2 separate regions of the Homo sapiens genome follow, and region 2 is linked to region 1. The links are contacts of gene promoters, found by promoter capture Hi-C in blood cells and fetal thymus (Javierre and others, 2016). All regions are on one chromosome and are shown on one strand. Each heading gives the region's core, a stretch centred on a gene start or on the middle of the fragment in contact. The rest is flanking DNA. Distances are from core to core; before and after follow the strand shown. Region 1 holds the start of ZNF670 (zinc finger protein 670). Region 2 holds the start of ZNF695 (zinc finger protein 695).

Region 1 (6,776 bases), core at 3,555-6,054:
TGAGTAGGTAATCCTGTTAAATATATGCAAGTTAAAAAACAAACAACAAAAACATTCTTTGTGTTCTCCAGGAACAGCTTGGTGAAAACAAACACCTTCTCATTATGACTTAGATGATGCTTCCTTTACGTACAATAAAGCCAGAAACAGACAGCGTAATTTTTTTTTCGCCTCTTAACTAATTAGCTGACCAAATTTGTCTTCAGTGGTCAGAACAAAATACTTGCTAACCAAATTTTACTTAAGTTTCCCTCCTTCCCTCAGGCCCCTGAACTCTGATATACCCTCAGCCTGAGCCAACATACAACCCCTCTTTATGCCTCTCCTGTGAACAGGCTGACCTCAGGGTGAAATGTTCTCTGATCTAGAATCCATCCGGCCCTCTTCCTCTCCTCTTTTTTCTAATCTAGTTTGCTCCTTCCTATGAAAGAAAGCCCTTTTCTGCCTAACCTTTAACATGCTTGCCACTGTTATACCCAGTGTTTTTCCTCATTGCAATACTTCAGAATAAACTCCCTTCTTACATAATTCTGAATTTACTTTATTGCAGCAGTTCCCCACCTTTTTGGCATCAGGGATCAGTTTCATAGAACACAGATTTTCCATGGATGGTGGGGATAGTTTTGGGACCACACTGTTCTACCTCAGATCATCAGGCATTAGATTCTCATAAGGAGCACACAACCTAGATCCCTCCCATGCACAGTTCACAGTAGGGTTCGTGCTCCTCTGAGATTCTAAAGCCACCACTGATCTGACAGGAGAAGGAGCTCAGGTGGTAATGTTCACTCACCTGCTGCTCACCTCCTGCTGCATGGCCTGGATCCTAACAGGCCACCGACAGGTACTGCTCCATGGCCCAGGGGTTGGGGACCCCTGCTTTATTGAATAATGTCTAGAAAGAATGCCAGGACAATGAAAATTACACCCTTAAAAAGGGGATCTCATCCTTTCAATCCAGGCCCAACCACATCCACCTGTGAACACCAGATTTCCAGAACTCTGTAGCTTCTCTCAATATAAAGAGCTCCTTTCATGGCTGAGGTGAGCAGGCTGGGACATCTGTAAAGGGAGGCTCCCAAGGAAGAACTGAGTGAGGCACTTACGTTTAATACCTCAACTGGAAAAGCCAAAGTATCTATCCCTATCATATAATAAATATGTCATTTATTTATTATTTCCATGATAACAAATCATCTCCAGGAGTTGCCAAGTCCTATCCCATAAAACTTAGCATTAAACTCCAATGTCCAGATAACAGGATAAAAAACAGGGTTATCCACTGTTATAAATTCTCCACCCTGCAAAAAGGAGGCACTGATGTTTTGATAAATATTTATAATTCACCAATTTATCTACAACACTTGCTTGTGGAAATGTATTCATTTTTCTGCAGCCATAATGGAAAAGAGATTTTTCATATTTTTCCCTGGTAACATTTTGATATAGTTTGGCTGTGTCCCTACTCAAATCTCATCTTGAATTGTAACTCCCACAATTCCCACATGTGGCAGGAACGTGGTGGGAGGTAATTGAATCATGGGGGCAGGTCTTTCCCCTGCTGTTCTGGTGATAGCGAATACGTTTCATGAGATCTGATGGTTTTAAAAACTGGAGTTTCCCTGCACAAGCTCTCTCTCTCTCTGCCTGCAGCCATCCGCGTAAGACGTGACTTGCTCCTTGTTGCCTTCCGCATGATTGTCAGGCTTCCCCAGCCATGTGGAAATATAAGTCCTTTAAATCTCTTTCTCTTATAAATTGTCCAGCCTCAGGTATGTCTTTATCAGCAGCATGAAAACAAACTAATACACATTCCCAAAGCAAAGTCCTAGAATTCCATTTGAAATCTCCTTCAAAAAAGAACAGACTTGAGAAACTTACTACACTCACTCTTGGGAAGAAAAAGGTTAACAAGAATTTTTAACAAATGGAATATGAATAGATTTTTGCCCCCTTGAAATCCACCTCCTTCTTGTCTCTTTGGAAATATTTTTTTTTAATCTTTCAAGCTCTCTGAATAAAACATATTTTAAAGTTAATGAAAAACTGAAACTGAACTAAGTGAATAAATCTTTTCAAGGCAATAAACTCAGGGAGGGGTCATGCTGGCAGAACACAGACATCTCTGGGTCAAGAGTCAGGTCAGGTCACTGCATCACTTTGGAGATCCTCACAGGCCCATTCTCCTCACAGAAATACTCAATGACCACCCTCCCAGGAGACACTGTACTGTGCCCCACTGTGTGCTTGAATTTTTTTTTTTTTTTTGGGACGGAGTCTTGCTCTGTCACCCAGGCTGGAGTGCAGTGGCGTGATCTCAGCTCACTGCAAGCTCTGCCTCCTAGGTTCACGCCATTCTCCTGCCTCAGCCTCCTGAGTAGCTGGGACTACAGGCGCCCGCCACCATGCCCGGCTAATTTTTTGTATTTTTAGTAGAGATGGGGTTTCATCACATTAGCCAGGATGATCTCGATCTCCTGACCTCGTGATCCGCCCGCCTCGGCCTCCCAAAGTGTTGGGATTACAGGCGTGAGCCACCGCACCTGGCCTGTGTGCCTGAATTTCTAAGCCCTTTTCTGCCTAAACTTTAACATGCTTGCAGCTCTTATACCTGGTGTTTTTCCCCATTGCAATACTTTAGAATAAACTCTCTTTTTTTTTTTTTTCTTTTTCAAACTGAGTCTCCCTCTGTCACCCAGGCTGGAGTGCAGTGGCACCATCTCAGCTCACTGCAACCTCCACCTCCTGGCCTCAAGCGATTCTCCTGCCTCAGCCTCCTGAGTAGCTGGGATTACAGGCATGCACCACCAGACTGGGCTAATTTTTGTATTTTTAGTAGAGACAGTGTTTTGCCATACTGGCAAGGCTGGTCTCAAACTCCTGACCTCAAGTGATCTGCCTCCCTTGGCCTCCCAAAATGCTGGGATTACAGGCGTGGGCCACCACGCCCAGCCAACTCTCTTCTTACATAATTCTGATGATGGTGCTTTTCTGGTTCTTGCACCACCTCACTGGGGTGGGTATTCCTTGTCCTTTGAGATAGTTTTTCTCCTTTCCCAAGTCCGAGAAAATCCAGAGCGCAGGAATCATTTCTAGATTTTTCCCTTAATACCAGCATCTGACTGGCTGCCACCAACGTGTCTCCAAGGAATGATGAAAACTGGGGTTGGAGGAAGAAAATCCCAATGCACCAGGGATTTGTTTTTTAAACGAAGAGTATACTAGGAGACGTCTCTCAACTCCAGGGCACCCAGATGCTGCCTGGAGAGGCTCTACTTCCATATTTTAAACTGTCCTCTGTGAGGAGATGACCCAGGAGAAGGTATTCATTAGACACTCCAAGAGATCTGGCTGCTAAACAGAGGACCAAGAAAAGATATAAGGGTGGCTGAGGACATATCACCCTCTAAAGTTTCCAAAAGGGAACTTCACCCCAAAGATACTCTGGTAAGATGTGCACACTCAAAAAAGATAAAATTAGGAGATGCACAAAGACTTTTTTTTTCTACAATTAACTGTCAGGTGATTATTTTCTGCTTTCCACTCATGTGTAATGTTCAGAAATATTTTAAGAGTGAAAACAAATATTTTCAGAACGACTCACTACTCTGAAAAAAATAACACACTTCATCTGTATGAAATGTACAATAAAAGACAAATACTTGATAATGTTGCATTTGAATATAGGAAAAGAATTGGAAATTTAGGGTTTTACTACAAGCCCCAGAAGAGTTAGGCTGTGGGAACAGGGTCGTTGATGTGAGATCCTGTTGCCATACACTTAGAAATGTGGAGTGTTATGTGAAAATAATTAAACACAGGCACTAGGGAGACTGAGGTGGGGGGATCGCTTGAGCCCGAGTCCAAGACTCCATCATACACATGTACATACACACATGAATGAATAAACAACCAACCAAAACGTAACTCATGCTTGTCTTGTAAATTAATAACTTAAAGGGAAACAAAACAGCCTTAAACAACCACGAACCCACCAATTAACCTCTGGTTACATAACCAGGAGATATCTGGCTGCACAGTCTATATGGGGTGACTACATAACTGTACACGATCAATTATTTAATTGGGTTTGCTTCCTCGGGTTCCTTACAAAAAACCCTTTCCTTCCCCAAACCACAAACCACGCTGGTGGCTTCCTAACTCACGACTCTCTGCTCAAATAAACTCCTTAATATTTTAACGGCGCCTCAGTTTTCTTTCTAACAGGAGAAAGGAGGATTTGGAGACTTCACAGACCACAGCTCCTCCCACGCAGGAACCCCGAACCCCAAGTCGGGACTCTCCCCTGAGGACCCTCCCGTCGGCACCGCACGATCCGAGGGAGATGCGGGTCTACAGAGGCAGAGCTGCCCAGAAAGGGTTCCGGGCCTGGCCGAAGCGGCGGGGCAGGGACAAGCCAGGCGGCCCGGGGTCTGGCTGCGGGTCCAGCCCCGCATCCTGTGCCACTAAGGCCGCGAGGCGCCGGCGGAAACTCGGGTCGGCACCGCGGGGAGGTCCGGGTTCGCCACAACCGCTTCCTGGCGGTTCCCTTTTCCCCTTCCCGAGACACCTGGCCGGCACACTCACCATTTCCCAGTCTCCGGTGTCTGGGGTCCTCCCTAAGGACCTTCCGGGACCTGCAGGTCCCAGAGCAACAGAAGCTGCCGCGGGACCACTTGGACCTCCCAGGGATAAGGGGAAGGAGCAGCGGAGACGCACCGAGCTCGCCACATTCGCGCTGCCCAACACAAAAGCCGCGCCAGGTCCCGGAAGCTGCTCCCTCCTTTCGCGGCGCGCTTGAGAGTACAGTCCCCTTCCCAGCGCCCGATTGGACAGGGCCTTAGGCCCCGCCCCTTCAGTCCTGAGTGACGGGAGATGCAATCAGACACGGCGCTGAGTGAGGCCAGGTTCTTTCCCTGCAGTCCTTTTCTAAGGCATGGATTCTGCCCTGTGCTGAGACCTGGCGCCCCCCGGGGGACTTTCCCATTCAAGCTCATACACAGGATTATGTCCATTTATGAGTAATATTTGTGATATTTACAATTGGAAACACTATGATGACAATTATTCTAAAATTTCAGATTTCACAACCTTCCTGGCCTCTGGTCTTTTGAGGAGGCAGCCTGAATTTTTTTTTTTTTCTTGCTTCTAGTGGGATTAGAGGCAGCTTGAATTTTGAAAAGACAATGTCCTCTCAGGTAGCAACGCCCCATAGAAATAAAATGTGAGCCGCGTGTGTTCCAGTAGCAATAGAAAAGAAAACAACACGTGAAATTGATTACAATGATTTATTTAACCAAATATATCCAAAAATATTGTTTCAATATATGATCGATGTTAAGCTCGCGCCTAATTGAAGAGACTACCCAAACAGGTTAAGTGTGAGCAGCAAGGCTAGTTTACTCACTCGGGTGCGAGCGGGCTGAGTCCGAAAAGAGGGTCAGCGGAGGGTCGTGGGATTGGAGTTAGTTTTATAGGTGAGGGGTAAGCAGTGGAAAGTTACAGTCAGGGGCCGTTTATTACCGGCGGGGGAAGAATGTCACAAAGTACATTGTCACAAGAGGGAGGGGTCACAGTGTCACTAGGCTGATTGATCAGTTAGGGTAGTGCACGTCACAACGGTAAAATGCTGCAAGGTTGGCTAATCAGCTAAGACAGAAACTAGCCGTTTTTCTTCCTTTGTGGTTTTCCTGTTGTCCCAGACTTTCTGGCTCCAGGACCTTCTGGATGTACACGTGTGGGTCACAGGGATCACAATGGCTTGACCATGGCGCAGCCTGCTCAGACGGCCTTACAATCGATATATTATTAATGAAAAATCACTCTATATATTAAGCTTCCAGCATGTTTCAATTCAGCCTGCACATTTGGATACACGTGTCTGGTTTTACCACTTTATTTTAAGGTTGTTCGGGAATGTCTGCCTGTTCCTTTCATGTAACTGTTCATTATTTATTGATTACTATTTCTTAATTTCACTTATCTCAGTGAGAGTTGCCAAATAGTGGTTTTCTAATTATTTTCTCTACAGGTATTAGTTCTCATTCTTCTATTAAAAATGGCGTTTTCTCATGAACTCTCTCCATTACATTAAAACCTACCCTATTAGGAAAGGAAGAATAAAAGCTTGATTCTCCCTTTAATCAATTGTCATAACAATGACGGCGTGGCCTCAGCAAACAAAAAAAATGTGAGTGACTTTTTTCTAACCTTATTTTTTGTGTATTTAATGAGATTCCATACACTGCAGTCTGTATCTATTTTTTGAGCTCAAATTATCCCTTTTTTTTTTTTTTTTTTTTGAGACCGAGTCTCACTCTGTTGCCCAGGCTGGAGTGCAGTGTGGCATGATCTCGGCTCACTGCAACCTCTGCCCCCCGGATTCAAGCGATTCTCGTGCCTCAGCCTCCTGAGTAGCTGGGATTACTGGCACCCACCACAACGCCTGATTAATTTTTGTATTTTTACTAGAGACAGGCTTTCACCATATTGGCCAGGCTGGTCTGGAACTCCTGACCTCAGGTGATCCACCCACCTCGGCCTCCGAAAGTGCTGGGATTACAGGCGTGAGCCACCGCGCCCGGCCAAATTGTCCCATCGTAAGTGAGGGGCTCTATACATTGCCTCCTTTGTCCTTGTACCATATGTTTTGAGAGCTTTCTTATTTTCTGGAGCAGACAGAAACTGTGTGCTTCCCTTTTTCTGTTATATACGTTGCAAAAAGATGACCATTTGGCATTTTCCTTTTTACTTGGCTTATGGCGTTTCCTAACACT
Region 2 (6,503 bases), core at 226-2,725, 71 kb before region 1:
CTTACCTGCCATTGGGCAACAGAGTGAGACTTCGTCTCAAAAAAAATAAATAAATAAAAAGAACAAATAGTTGATAATGTTGTGTTTGGAGAGACAAAGTTAGCATTTGGGAATGTAGAAAAGAAACTGGAAACAAGATTTCCTTCAGGCCCTAAAACAGTTAGGCTGGGGGAACAGAGTCCTGGATTTGAGGTCCTGCTTGCCATACATTTGAAAAATGCTGGGAAAACCAGTTCCCCTGTGGAGTGTTAGAATACTTAAATGGCAGACAATTAGACTGAGTGGCTTTGATGTCCTGGGATTCTATCTAAGGAATCCTAGCTAACTTAGATGAATTTCTTGTAAATTGCAAACTTGGAGAAAAACAAAACGTAGGCTTAACCAACCACTAAATGCTAATAAATCTCTTATTACATAATCAGGAAATTTCATCCTGGACAGTCCAAATAAGGTGACTGCATAATGGCAACCGATCAATTATTAAACGTGGTTGCTTCCTCGTGCACCTTATGAAGACCTTCCCTTCAAGTTTAGCCCCAAACCAGGGCTAGGGGCTTCCAGATTCATAAATCACTGTTTGCTGGAATAAACTCCTTAACATTTCAAAGGTGCTTCAGTTTATTTTTTTAAGAGGAGAAAGGAGACCGGGCGCGGTGGCTCACGCCTGTAATCCCAGCACTTTGGGAGGCCGAGGCGGGCGGATCACGAGGTCAAGAGATCGACACCAACATGGTGAAATCTCCGTTTCTAATAAAAATACAAAAATTAGCTGGGCGTGGTGGTGGGCGCCTGTAATTCCAGCTACTCGGGAGGCTGAGGCAGGAGAATCGCTTGAACCTGGGAGGCAGAGGTTGCGGTGAGCCGAGATCGAGCCACCGAACTCCAGCCTGGCGACAGGGCGAGACTCCGTCTCAAAAAAAAAAAAAAAAAAAAAGAGGAGAAAGGAACCCACAGACCACAGCTCCTCCCACCCAGGAACCTTTCACGGGAGTCGGGACTCTCCCGACAACCCCTCCGTCATCACAGCACAATCCAGGGAAGACGCGGCGCTGCGGGCGCGGGGCTGCCCCGGGAGGGCTCTGGGCCGTGCCGAAGTCACCAGGCAGAGACCGGACAGTCACCCAGCGGCCGGGATCCCGCTGCCGGCCCGGCCCCCACCTGCGCGGGACGGGACTGAGGGCCGAGCTGCGCCAGCGGGACTCGGCCGCACACTCCGGAGCCGACCGCCGGGAGGCCCGGGGCCGCCAGCGCTGGTTCCAGCCAATTCCAACCGATTCCAACCACCCCCTCTCCCTTCTCGGGACACCCTGCTCCGCACACTCACCATTTCCCAGCTTTTGGGGGTCCCAGCGTCCTCCCTATAAATCTCGCAATACCTGCAGGCCACAGGGCGATGGAGCCTGCGGCAGTCACCCGGGACTCTCCGAGAGGCAGCAGACGGGAACCCAGCACCCCGCCGGCCGCAAGGAGACAAAGGCCCCGCCAGATCCCCAAGGCCGCCCCTTCCTCTCTGGCTGCACGCCTGATTGGACAGTTCTCACGCTAGCGCCGCTGACTGGATGGGGCTCCAGGCCCCACCCCCTCAGGTCTTGAGTGACAGGAGGTGCGATCAGACACTGGGCCGAATGAAACAAGAGTGACAGGTTTTTGGGTGCAGCCCTTTTGAAGCGACATTCCTCACGGCACTTCGACCTGGACCCACCTGCCTGGGGGATAATGGCATTTAACCTTGTATATAAGATTATATCCATTCATAAGTTTTACACACACACACACACACACACACACACACACATATATATTTCACAAATAGAAACAATGAATGATAATTATTTTAAAGTTTCCGATTTCATAACCTTCCGGGCCTCTGGTCTTTTGACCAGGCAGCCTGAGCTGTGGAAAGTGAGGCAATCCTCTCAGGCAGCAATATGCAATATAAATAAAAGGTGAGCCACGCGTGTCATTTAAAATTTTCTAGGATCTGGCGGGTCGTGGTGGCTTACGCCTGTGATCCCAGCACTTGGGGAGGCTGAGGAGGGAGGATCACATGAGGCCAGGAGTTTGAGACCAGCCTGGCCAGTATGGCGAAACCCCGTCTCTGCTAAAAGTATTTTTAAAAATTAGCCAGGAGTGGTGGTGGTCGCCTGTAATCCCAGCTACTCAGGAGACTGAGGCAGGAGACTCGCGTGAGCCTGGGAAGCGGAGGTTACAGTGAGCCGAGATCATGCCTTTGCACTCCAGCTTGGGTAATAAGAGGAAAACTCCATCTCAAAAACAAAAACAAAACAAAACAAAAAAATCGGCTGTGAAGACATTTCCTCCTGCAGAAATTTAGCCAAACAGCTGAGTATGTCTTGAAGTCATTCTTTGGTTCTTAACAGGGCAAAGCTATTTTCTAAGACCTAAACCCTGGACTGGCCATGGGGCAAACCCTCACAACACATATGGAATTCATGCACAGTTAATGCATCTCTTACCTTGAACCAGTGGTTGCTACTAATTTTGTTTCTGATTCAGCCCAGTTCTACAACTGCCCTGCTATGCACAGGGCACTGTACTAGCTGCCCTGGCCTTGGTGAACATCATTGTGGGGAGAGGACTTTGCTGGGAAAAAGTTGCATCCCCCCAGATTGAAACCATTCCACTTTCCAAATTGGAGTAAAACTGAAAAGACCTAGGGGAGCACCCAAGGTTACAACATGAATGAATAGCTCAGAATATTTAAAGTCATTTGATGGTATCATGGGTGAGTGTGTCTCACTTCAAACAAAATAAAACACTACTGTTATTCTGAGATTCTAAGTTAGGATTTATGTAAAAATATATAATAATTTTTTTGATACACAACACACATACAAAAAAATACAAAGCATTCATGTAAAGCTCTGTGAGTTATTACAAAGCAAATACAGTTGTATAACCAAGAAATAGAACCAGCATCACTCATATCCCAACAATTACTATCTGCCTCCCTTATCTACCTCCCCAGTGGTAAGTAAGATTATTATTATTATTATTATTATTATTATTATTATTATTATTTTAAGACGAAGTCTCGCTCTTGTCCCCCAGGCTGGAGTGCAATGGCGCGATCTTGACTCACTGCAACCTCCACCTCCCGGAATCGAGCGATTCTGCTGCCTCAGCCTCCCGAGTAGCTGGGATTACAGGCGCCTGCCACCACACCCGGCTAATTTTTGTATTTTTAGTAGAGACAGGGTTTTACCATATAGGCCAGCCTGGTCTCGAACTCCTGACCTCAGGTGATGCACCCGCCTTGGCCTCCCAAAGTGCTGGGATTACAGGCGTGAGCCACTGTGCCCTGCCGATTTTTTTTTTCTTTTTTTGAGACAGAGTCTAACCCTTTCACCCAGGCTGAAGATGCTCTAGCGATCCTCCTACCTCAGCCAACTGAGTAGTTGGGACTACAGGCACACAACCACCACAACTGGTTCATTTAAAGATCTTAAGAGCTAACATTGTACATCACTTTTGCCTTTTCATACAAGCGTTTTATTACAGAAAATTTTAGCCATATACAAAATAAACGAAATAGTATAATAGACCCGTCACCCTGATTCAAGAACTACTCATCTTGTGCCATTTTTCTTTCATCTATGCTTCAACCCATTCTGCACCCACTGCTGTATTTTTTTAGTTCCTTTTTTTTTTGCATGAGGTCAGATGTACACACATTGAAAGGCACAAATCTTAAATGTACAGTTTTTAAAAAATAAAATATACCCATATAAGCTTCACCCCTTTTAAGAATGGAATATTTTCATCATTCTCAGAAAACTTCCTCGTATTTCTTCCCAGGCAGTTTTTTTCTACTTTCAGAGGCTGTGTTGATTTATTTTCACTCTAGGTTCATTTTTGCCTGAAGCCATACAATATGCATTTTATTCCACTTTGTCTCATATACCCAGCTTGTGAGATGCAGTCAGGGTGTGTGCTTCAGTGGCTTGTGTCTTCGTACTGCTGGGTAGCATCCTGTTGTATGAATATCCGCTCTACAATTTGCTGAACCATTTTTCTGTTGATGGACATTCGGGTTGTTTCCTATTTTGGGTTTTTATGAACAAAAGATCTATAAATATTCTTGTACAAATACTTGTTATATTTAATGTAATTCCTTTTTAGAATTTGAGTGACGTGTGTTTTTAGTGGGATGACTGGTGATGTTGAGTACCTTTTTATATGCCTGTTGGCCATTTGTATGTCTTCTTTGGGAAAAATACTCAATCTGTTTCATATTTCTGAATCGGTTGTTACTATTCTCTTTTTTGAGATGGAGTCACGCTCTGTCGCCCAGGCTGGAGTGCAGCGGCGTGATCTCAGCTCACTGCAACCTCCACCTCCTGGGTTCAAGTGATTCTCCTGCCTCAGCCTCCCGAGTAGCTGGGACTACAGGCGCGTGCCACCATGCCCAGATAATTTTTTGTATTTTTAGTAGAGACGGGGTTTCACCGTGTTAGCCAGGATGGTCTCGATCTCCTGACCTCGTGATTGGCCCGCCTCGGCCTCCCAAAGTGCTGGGATTACAGGGGTGAGCCACCGCGCCTGGCCAGATGCCACATTTTCTTTATGCATTCATTCATCAAAGAACACTTGGGTTGCGTCCACGTTTCCGCTTTCATGAATATTCCTGCAATAAACATGGGTGTGCAGGTAAGTTTTTCAGGTCCTGCTTTGCATATTTTGGATAGACACCCAGAAGTGGAATCGCTATATCATATAATAATTCCGTTTGAGAAACCTCCGTACGGCCGGGTGCGGTGGCTCACGCCTGTAATCCCAGCACTTTGGGAGGCCGAGGAGGGCAGATCACCTGAGGTCAGGAGTTCGAGACCAGCCTGGCCAACATAGCGAAACCCCGTCTCTACTAAAAATGCAAAAATTAGCCGGGTGTGGTGGCGTGTGCCTGTAATCCCATCTATAGGGAGGCTGAGGCAGGAGAATCACTTGAACATGGGAGGCGGAGGTTGCAGTGAGCCAAGATCACACCATTGCACTCCAGCCTGGGCAACAGAGCAAAACTCTGTCTCAAAAAGAAAAAAAAAAAAAAAGAGAGAGAGAAACTTCTGTACTATTTTTTATAGTAGCTGGATCAATATTTCCCCACTAGCAGTGCACAGAGGTCTCAGTTTCTCCACATCCTAGAGACCATTTGTGGGTTCTTTATTTGCTTGATAGTGGCCATGTAATGGGTGTTAGCAAAGGAAATCTGGTAGATTTGCTTTACATTTTTATTTTATTTATTTATTTATTTATTTTTTTGAGGCAGGGTCTTACTCTTTCACCCAGGCTGGAGTGAAGTAGTGCAATCTTGGCTCACTGCAGCCTCAACCTCCTGGGCTCAACTGAACCTCCCACTTCAGTCTCCCGAGTAGCTGGGACTACAGGCACCTACCTGCCAACACACCCAACTAATTTTTTTTGTTTTGTTTTGTTTTGTTTTTGTTTTTTTTGAGACGGAGTCTCGCTCTGTCGCCCAGGCTGGAGTGCAGGGGCGCGATCTCGGCTCACTGAAAGCTCCGCCTCCCGGGTTCACGCCATTCTCCTGCCTCAGCCTCCCCAGTAGCTGGGACTACAGGTGCCCGCCACCAAGCCCAGCTAATTTTTTGTATTTTTAGTAGAGACGGGGTTTCACCATGTTAGCCACGATGGTCTCGATCTCCTGACCTCGTGATCTGCCCGCCTCGGCCTCCCAAAGTGCTGGGATTACAGACGTGAACCACCGCGCCCGGCCTAATTTTTGTATTTTTATTATAGGTGTGAGCCATTGCGCCTGGCTGCTTTGCATTTTTCTAAGGATTTGTATATCACTGGTCAGTTTTTTGCCCACTTTTAAATGGCATTATTTGCTTTTTCTTTGTTTAGTTTTTGTAGTTGTTTATATATATCCTGTCAGATATTTGCTTTTCAAATATTTTCTCTCATTCCTTAGGTGGGATTTTGACTCCACTGAATGTTTCCTTTGACATGCAGTTTTTTAAGTTTAATGTAGTTCATTCTTTTAGTCTTTTTTGTTGTTGTTTATATATTTGATGTCATACCCAAGAAAATATTGCGAAGACCAATGTTATCATCTTTCCCCTTATGTTTTCTTCTAAGGATTTTAGAGTTACAGTTTATTTTCTATTTATTTATTTATGTATTTCGAGACAGAGTCTCACTGTCGCCTAGGCTGGAATGCAATGGTGTGATCTCGGCTCACTTCAACCTCCGCCTCACGGATTCAAGCAATTCTCCTGCCTCAGCCTGTCGAGTAAGTGGGACTACAGGTGTGTGCACTAATTTTTGTATTTTTAGTACAGACGGGGTTTCACCATGTTGGCCAGGATGGTCTCGATCTCCTGACCTCGTGATCCGCCCGCCTCGGCCTCCCAAAGTGCTGGGATTACAGGCGTGAGGCACCGCGCCCGGCCTAGAGTTACAGTTTTTATGTTTAAGTGTCTAATCCATTTAAGATGGCTTTTGTATATGATGCAGGGTAAGTC

What was found. The method cuts DNA at HindIII sites, captures the fragments that hold promoters and counts their contacts. A CHiCAGO score of 5 or more calls a contact.
Region 2: a contact is called between the fragment with the promoter of ZNF695 here and the fragment with the promoter of ZNF670 in region 1, in 4 of 17 cell types (neutrophils, M2 macrophages, erythroblasts and 1 more). The highest score is 6.9, in neutrophils.

The regions. Positions count from the first base shown.
Region 1 is chr1:247,074,007-247,080,782 of GRCh38, forward strand. ZNF670 (zinc finger protein 670) reads right to left here and starts at 4,805. Exons shown (of 4, transcript NM_033213.5): 1 at 4,588-4,805. The coding sequence starts at 4,590. ZNF670-ZNF695 (ZNF670-ZNF695 readthrough (NMD candidate)) reads right to left here and starts at 4,805. Exons shown (of 7, transcript NR_037894.2): 1 at 4,588-4,805. RefSeq lists silencers at 4,668-4,981, 4,770-4,839. The HindIII fragment of the contact is 6,434 bases long and covers 1-5,834 here.
Region 2 is chr1:247,006,582-247,013,084 of GRCh38, forward strand. It overlaps ZNF695 (zinc finger protein 695), which reads right to left and starts at 1,476. Exons shown (of 4, transcript NM_020394.5): 1 at 1,325-1,476. The coding sequence starts at 1,327. The region is part of intron 1 of ZNF670-ZNF695 (ZNF670-ZNF695 readthrough (NMD candidate)); the gene reads right to left. RefSeq lists silencers at 1,069-1,168, 1,669-1,728. The HindIII fragment of the contact is 12,382 bases long and covers 1-3,751 here.